2 separate regions of the Homo sapiens genome follow, and region 1 is linked to region 2. The links are contacts of gene promoters, found by promoter capture Hi-C in human tissues and cell types (Jung and others, 2019). All regions are on one chromosome and are shown on one strand. The core of a region is centred on a gene start or on the middle of the fragment in contact, and the rest is flanking DNA. Distances in the headings are between cores, read along the strand shown. Region 1 overlaps FRMD4A (FERM domain containing 4A). Region 2 holds the start of CDNF (cerebral dopamine neurotrophic factor).

What was found. Contacts are between HindIII fragments. The study calls those that stand out against the background at their distance.
Region 1: a fragment that was not itself captured here is called in contact with the fragment with the promoter of CDNF in region 2 in 1 of the 25 tissues and cell types used here (dorsolateral prefrontal cortex).

Annotation. Positions count from the first base shown.
Region 1 is chr10:13,809,142-13,812,831 of GRCh38, forward strand. It overlaps FRMD4A (FERM domain containing 4A), which reads right to left. Exons shown (of 25, transcript NM_018027.5): 4 at 1,673-1,767. Among named protein-coding and RNA genes, the nearest start is that of FRMD4A-AS2, 180 kb to the right of the region's middle. The HindIII fragment of the contact is 4,303 bases long and covers 1-3,690 here.
Region 2 is chr10:14,835,427-14,839,663 of GRCh38, forward strand. It overlaps CDNF (cerebral dopamine neurotrophic factor), which reads right to left and starts at 2,611. Exons shown (of 4, transcript NM_001029954.3): 1 at 2,406-2,611. The coding sequence starts at 2,520. HSPA14 (heat shock protein family A (Hsp70) member 14) reads left to right here and starts at 2,880. Exons shown (of 14, transcript NM_016299.4): 1 at 2,880-3,033. The coding sequence starts at 2,977. It overlaps MSANTD7 (Myb/SANT DNA binding domain containing 7), which reads left to right and starts at 2,880. Exons shown (of 5, transcript NM_001378785.1): 1 at 2,880-3,033. RefSeq lists a silencer at 2,664-2,773 and an enhancer at 2,924-3,163. The HindIII fragment of the contact is 11,564 bases long and covers 1-4,237 here.

The sequences.
Region 1 (3,690 bases), core at 341-2,840, 1.0 Mb before region 2:
TGGGAGAAGAGTGACTTTCTACCTAGGTCCGATTCCTGCCAGTCAGTGCTGTTAGGGCAGTGATCTGAAATGTTCTGCAGACTCACATCATCTTCCCCTTCAGCCCAGGATCACACGTTCGTTTTTCAATTCTTGTTTATTCAAAAGGGAAGCCTAATCAGGCCTCCTCTAGAGTTCACGGGATCTTTTAGTAAACTTACGTGGGAAATGTGAACAATGGGGCTATGATTAATTGAAACTTAGGGTTTCCTTCTGATTAGTGAAAATAGTCTCAACAGCAATTTAAGTGGTTTACAGTGATTCTCAGGAGAAAGGGGAGAGAATAATCTACATTTGTAAAAGTAATTGTTCTACATGTGCATTTGTTTAAAAGCTTTTAAAAAAATTGCAGTGCTGGGTCCTTCCCCGCACAGCCCTGAACCTTTCCCAGCTGGGCTTACTTGGCCCTGCCTGCAATTCCTCCTGCCCACCGACGGCCACTCCCACCTGCATTCCAGTTCCCTGCAGGCTCCAGGACGAGGGGCCCACCTTGCTCCTCCCAGCTTTCTTGAGGAAGATGTGGCTTTGCTCCTGCTGCCTGCTCTCTGAACACACCACAGCCTGAAATGTCCCTGATTTACAGGGTGACCAGATGGTCCGGTTTGCCCAAGACAGTCCCAACGACACCCCCTTTTGTTCAGTGTCTCAATTTGGATAATAAGTCATAAGACCACCCCTTCCACTTGCATCTCACCAAGGCCAAGTGTAGCCATGTGCAGGGACACCTGGTTGCCTCTCTCACTGGCCCATGTGGATGCCCACCTGTTCTTGCTTCAGTGGCACCACCTGATTCCCAGGGCCTCGGCTCCCCTGTACTGTCTTGCCTGGCCACTAACCTAACACTGATCTATTAGTAGTTTAGGAAATCATCTCTGTATTTCTGAAGATCTGGAAGACAGAGAGAGAGAGAGAGAGTCTGTGTGTGTGTTTGTGACTGTACGTGTGTGCACAGAGGAAAGAGAATTATGAACTATTTTCTTAGAATAGCTCATTTTTATCTAGAAATCTATACAGGTATTCAGTATACTCTTTTGATAACAGTACCTTAAAAAGAAAATGGAAATTTTAGTAAAGATTTTCCTTACTTGTATTACACAACACCACTTTATAGAGCCAAACTGAAAAGACCCTTGAAAGCAAATATTCTTCTCATCAGATCAGTGATCTGAATTTTTTATTTTCATAGTCGCTTTATTTCAGTTTAGACACTGAAACTGCACAGGTTATTTTCATTTTGAATTTATCATCAAATTCACTTCCTGTTATTGTTATCCCAACAGTAGAGAGAAATGTTTCATTTCCAGAAGTTTTCATTTAACTTAAATAGAAAACAAACTCACATAGATCCACTTAAAAAAAAATAAACATTTCAGTCTGAACACAAACCTGCTTGATTATTAGAACTAGTTTACCTAATAATTTTATAATATTAGTATCACCCTAATTATATCCTTTGGCTGTACCAGGCATGACCACAAGGCCTTTGAAATTCAGATGATGAACTTGGACTGACCCCAGACCATGGGACCCAAGTGGTCTGCAGCTGATTTCGCTGCTAACAGCTGGAGTGGAGCAGTTTCGGGTTCTGCACTGACTCTCCCTTCGGGCTGTGAGGGCTCAAGGCAGTACTTACGTTTCATCTGTGAATGCTATTCCAAAGTACTCCTTTTCCTTCAGATTGAAGTGAGAAGCCACAAGGTCAAGAAGCTCCTTGGCCAACAGCTTGGGCTGCAAGAAGAATACAATGGAAGAAGGGTAAGTGATGAGAGACTGCTTTTCCTAAAATATGCAATCTCAGGTTTCCATAATTTTTTCAATGAAATGTCACAAAGCTCAAGTATTTTGAAGCAAATGATTTTTATAAACCCAAACAAATAGACAATGACACTGATGAGCACACAGCCAAGTCAAGGGTCATCAACAGATAGAGACCTTCTGTTTTGTTTCCTAGAAGGGTTTTTTTTTTTTTAATTGAGATGGAGTCTCGCTCTGTCATCCAGGCTGGAGTGCAGTGGCATGATCTTCGCTCACTGCAACCTCTGCCTCCCGGGTTCAAGCGATTCTCATGCCTCAGCCTCTGGGATTATAGGCATATGCCACCACGCATGGCTTTTTTTTTTTTTTTTGGTTTTAGGAAAGATGGGGTTTCACCATGTTGGCCAGGCTGGTCTCTAACTCCTGGCTTCAAGTGATCCACCTGCCTCAGCCTCCCAAAGTGCTGTGATTACAGACGTGCGCCATCACACCTGGCTAATTTTTGTATTTTTAGTAATCCCAGCTACTTGGGAGGCTGAGGAAGGAGAATCGCTTGAAACTGCAAGGCAGAGGTTGCAGTGAGCCAAGATCACGCCACTGCACTCCAGCCTGGGTGACAGAGTGAGACTCTGCCTCAAAAAAAAAAAAAAAGATATCTGCCAGTCTAAAGAAGCACACCAGAGCGTTAGGCATAAAGTCATGGTAGATGTTTGTATTGTTAACATGTTATTCACCTTGGTCTGTTACTACTGAAGTGACCACAGAACACCAGGCACTGAAGTGGGGGAGGGAGGAAAGGCTGTCTGATGCGGAAACAGGGCCGGAAGAGAAGAGTTATTTCTAAACTAGCTTCCAGGTCATGCATTTGAAAATACATTGCCTCTATGAAAATTACTCCATTCCAAGCACACTCACCAGATATTAGGAAAGTTATTTCATTATCTGTTGGTTTTTTTTTTTTTTTTTGAGATGGAGTCTCGCTCTGTCACCAGGCTGGTGTGCAGTAGTGCGATCTTGGCTCATTGCAACCTCTGCCTCCTGGGTTCAAGTGATTCTCTTGCCTCAGCCTCCCGAGTAGCTGGGACTACAGGTGCGTGCCACCATGCCCAACGAATTTTTGTATTTTTAGTAGAGACAGGGTTTCACCATGTTGTCCAGGATGGTCTCGATCTCTTGACCTCGTGATCTGCCTGCCTCGGCCTCCCAGTGTTGGGATTACAGGCATGAGCCACTGCACCTGGCCGACAGTTGGTTTCTTATTTCACTTTTTGGGTACTGCCATGGACTGAATTATATCTCCCCAAAATGCATGCGTTAAAGCTCTGACATCCAGTGGTATTTGGAAATGGGACCTTTGGGAGACAATTAGGTTTAAATGAGTTTATGAGGGTGGGGCCCCCAAGATGGGATTCGTGTCCTTATAAGAAGAGACACCAGAGAGCCTGCTTCCTCTCTCTGCCATGTGGGGCCAAAATGCAAAGGTGGCCCTCACCAGGAGCTAACCATGCTGGCACCCTGATATTGAAATGACTGTTTAATACAACAGACATTTATTTATTGAATGCCTACTATGTACAGGGCACTGCCCACATGCTGTAGGAGACAGAAAAATAAGCAAGGTGCAGCACAGGCCCATAGGGACCTTAGACTTTTAACAGGGACACGGAGTAAGAGCTAGCGCTGAGTTTAAAAAGCCAAAGAAGATGCTCCACCCTTTTCTGTCTCACTCCTGGGCTCCTGGGTGGCAGCCTCAGGGCCTAGATGACCATCAATTCACTGATGAAAACCACTTAAACTGAAAGAATGGGTTTGAAGCTTCCTCCCCAGCAGACAGGAATGGACAGGAGAACCCAACGTGATAAATCAATACCACCTCATAGTCTATACTTCCATTCA
Region 2 (4,237 bases), core at 1,361-3,860:
TCTGAAAGGGAAAGATGTCAATGGTGTCACACACCACAAAGAAGTCAAGGTAAGAAAGGAAACTCATTTTCTGGACTTACATGAAGAGAATAACCTCACCATAAATGCCCTAACAAATTAGTAGCTTCTTAAGTTTTCTGGGATGTCTTTATTGCTAAAATAACCTCAGATAGCCATACTTCTTTTATTTATATTGTGCTTTTATGTTTATTAAAGATAGTTTTATAAGTGAATCTATAATTATTTTAAAATAAAAAGTTATTTAAAATAGTCCCATAATATAATCCTTTAAAAGAGATTTGGAAATATTTATGTTTTTCCAGTAAACCTCACATTACCTAATAATAGGACTCACAGACTTGAATATCTACAGGGGCCAGGCAAGGAAAAAGAAGAGTTAAGCAATTTGAATCGGGGGCAGAGTAGGGGCGGCAAACTACTCAAAACCCAAGTCCTTTCTAAAAAGAGCAGCCAATAGCCAATTCTACTATACAGCCATAAGGCCAATCTTGCCAGGTCATCTGGTTTTTTGAGAAAAGCCAGAAATATGAATTTTTACATAAAATTTCCCAATTTTAAAATGTACCCAGTGAATTTAATTTTTTTCAAAATATTTTGTAAATGTAACGAAACATATCAATAGGTCCGAGACGGCTCAGGAACCATTCAGTTTTTTTGCCTTCGCTCTAGAGTATGTATAATATGGCATTTTAATCTTATACATTGAGAAGAAATTAAGTTGTAAATAAGAAAGGAGGCTGAGGAGGGAGGATCACTCATAAGCAGTAATAGAGCTGGATGCAGAATCTGGTTCTTTTAGTTACCAAACTGTTATGTCCTTCCTCTGCGATTACACAAGCTTCTTTACCTAACAAATGAAATATATAGACAGGTTAGTCAGACATGCAATAATCACAGCATGCTGTAATAAATTTAGGACAGACAGCATAAGCTTCCCATTTAATTAATCCAGATGCTGTCTCTCTTGAAACATTTATAAGTGGGAGCCCCAGATGAGTCATCAAATCAATTGTCTTTGCCTCACAAAGTCTGTTTTAAAAGTATAGGACACAATTATAGCATGGTTTGGAGCAAAATTATAACTTAGCTAAACAAATATCTTTATATCGAGTAATAACATGTAGATATTTTAAATTTCTGGAGAAAAGTTTAATTATTGCAGAGCTCATAGAAAGCCAGGCTCCAATTATTAACACTTTAAGGACTGGGCGCTGTGGCTCACGCCTGTAATCCCAGCACTTTGGGAGGCTGAGGCGGGCCGATCACCTGAGGCCAGGAGTTCAAGACCAGTCTGGCCAACATGGTGAAACTGCATCTCTATTAAAAATATAAAAATTAGTCAGGCGTGGTGGTGGTGCCTTTAGTACCAGCTACTTGGGAGGCTGAGGCAGGAGAATCGCTGGAACCCGATGATGGAGGCTGCAGTGAGCCAAGATTGTGCCACTGTACTCCGGCCTGGGCAACACAGTGAGACTGTCTCAAAACAAAAACAAAAACAAAAAACAAAACAACAAAACAAACAAAAACACAACTTTAGTACGACTATACCCATCCATTCACTCAACATATATGATGAACCTACAATTTCCTGTTCACTAGGGATATATTTTCCAGCTGAGGGCATATACATTTAAACTAATTATTTTCAGTAAAACATGGAGTGAGCGCTACAGGAGTCCAGAAGGAAGGGGCTAGCATAGCCACTTACCTTCTTTGCCTTTGCTAACAGATCTCTAAAGTGAAGTACGCTGATTTTGCAAAAACCAAAGTCTCAGAGCTAGGGGACTTGGTGGGATACAGACTCACGTATTCTGACTGCGAGTTCACAGCTGAGATACCGTGAACAAAAAGGAACCACTCTTTTGTATTCCTCTCTTTCCCAAGGAGTCAGTGTACTCCTTTGCAAAGCAATTTTCACCTACAGAGTCCTAACAAATATTAGCTATGTCCTCTGATTTAAGCTACTCAACTCAATGCCATGTTTTGTTTTCCTTTGGGGAGTCACCAACTAGCTTGGACTTGAAAGACGTCTTCTGTGCAAGGGGAGGCAAATCTTGCTGGTTGGAAGCAGCAGAATCAATCTGGCGCCAGTATCATCTGAATCTAGCATTCTTTGCACAAACTCTAATCCAAATACAAACCCACCAGCTTTTACTGCTGAAGTTTAATATTCACAGCAAAACCACAACGTGGCCTCACGTTACCACCAGGCCCGGCTTGAGCTTTTTACTCGAGCTGGGCTTGGGCGATCTAAAACGAGGGACAGGGCCTGCATTTCCTGGGCGGAATGTTATTTATAGCCAGGGCCAGGAGAAGCCAAAGCCGACAGCTGCTGCGCCGCAGCGCGGGGCCGCCGCCATGCAAGCAGTTGTCACACCGCTCACCTTCACAGTCGGCCCCTGGCCGCCCCCCGGCCTCCTGGCCCTGCGTCAGCACCGGGTGAGAGACCAAAAGCCCGGCGCAAAAGGCCACCACAGCAACTGGGCTCGCGCACCACATGCTGGGCCAGCAGCTTCAATCGCCTCCGCCACCCGCGCCCACCGCCCACCAAGCTGCCAAAGCGAGCTGAGCAGAATTCGAGGTTGGAAAGAATCTGCCAGTAGTTGCCAGGACAAATGACGCAACTGAACACAGAGTTTCCATTGGCTCTCAAGGAAGGGATAGGAAGGGGGCGGAGTGTAGGAGCCTTTTCCCGTCCCTCCCCGGTTGCGCGTGCGCACTGTGCAGTTTCCGCGGAGCGCAGAGACGCGCTGAAGCTACTCGCGGACTGCGCGTGAAGAAAGGCGGAACCTTCACGCTGATTGGCGGCGACGCGGGAGGCTGTAGCGGCCGACCGGACGCAGGGGGCTGGCGGGAACGTGAAGCTCCGCGGTGCCTGATGGGGCCGTTGGGCGGCCGGTAGCTGTTGCTGTTGGGGGACCCCCTCATTCCTGCCGCTGCCGTCCCTGCTGCCTCATGGCGGCCATCGGAGTTCACCTGGGCTGCACCTCAGCCTGTGTGGCCGTCTATAAGGTGAGGGGCTGCGGAGCTGGGCTAGGGCTTCATGACGGCCACCCGGTTTTCTGGCGCTGGGTCATCCACAGGCTTGAGAGCGGCGTGTCGCCGGCCTAGGGATGTCGTGGAGTGGCGTTGCCGCGAGGACACTCCGGAGCGAAGGGCCGGGCAGGCCCGGCCTCGCGCCTGGCGATTCCTCCGGAAAGTCGTCTACTCCGCGGCGGAGGCTCGCGGCGATGTAGACGCGCGGGGTCCCAGGGCGTCATGGCGGCGGGATGCCCGGAGGGGTCCCAGGGACGACGTAGCTGCAGGGTGCCCGGGGGGGTCCCGGAGACAGCGGGGCCGCTGGGTGTCCCGGGGGGTCCCGGGGACGGCGGGGCTGCGAGCATTTTGGGGGAGGTCACGGGGACGTCCTGGCCTCTGGATGCCGGAAGGGGTCTCGCTGACGTCAGGGCCTCAGGATTCCCGCGGGTGGGAGGTCCTGGGAAAGTTGTGGCCGCGAGGTACTTGGAGGCGGTGGTCTCTGGGACAGCAGGGCCGCAGAACGCGCTGAGCTGGGCCCGAACGTCTAGGTCCCGGAGGGGCGGGGAGGCTGCAGTCGAGCTGGGGCTGATGGTCCCGCAAAGCTGCCTGGCTGTGAAGCCAGTTGATGGTGCGTGGTCTACAGAGGTGGCCTTTCTGGAAGTGAGAGCCTGACAGGACTTGTGGCCTTTCTCTCATCAGTGGGGAGGCAGAAGAAACGATAATCATGAACTCCGTTGCCACTAGTCCCGCGTTTAAATGTCAAATGACTTGTTAGGAAAAGCCAAAGGGAATAATACTACTTCATTTGTAGAAATGGGAAGAAAGGGGCCCAGCGCGGTGGCTTACGCCTGTAATCCCAGCACTTTGGGAAGCCGAGGCAGGCGGATCACGTGAGGTTAGGAGTTCTAGACCAGCCTGGCTAACATGGTGAAACCCCGCCTCTACTAAAAATACTAAAAATTAGCCGGGAACGCCTGTAATCCCAGCTGCTCAGGAGGCTGAGGCATGAGAATGGCTTGAACCCGGGAGGCGGAAGTTGCAGTGAGCCGAGATCTGGCACTGCAGTCTGCACTCCAGCCTGGGCCACGGAGCAAGACTCCGTGTCCAAAAAAAAAAAAAAAAGAAATGGTAATGGTAAGAAGGAAGAGAGGTAGGAAAGGTAACGTAATAATAGCCTTCGTTTTGTGTGTAGAAAGGT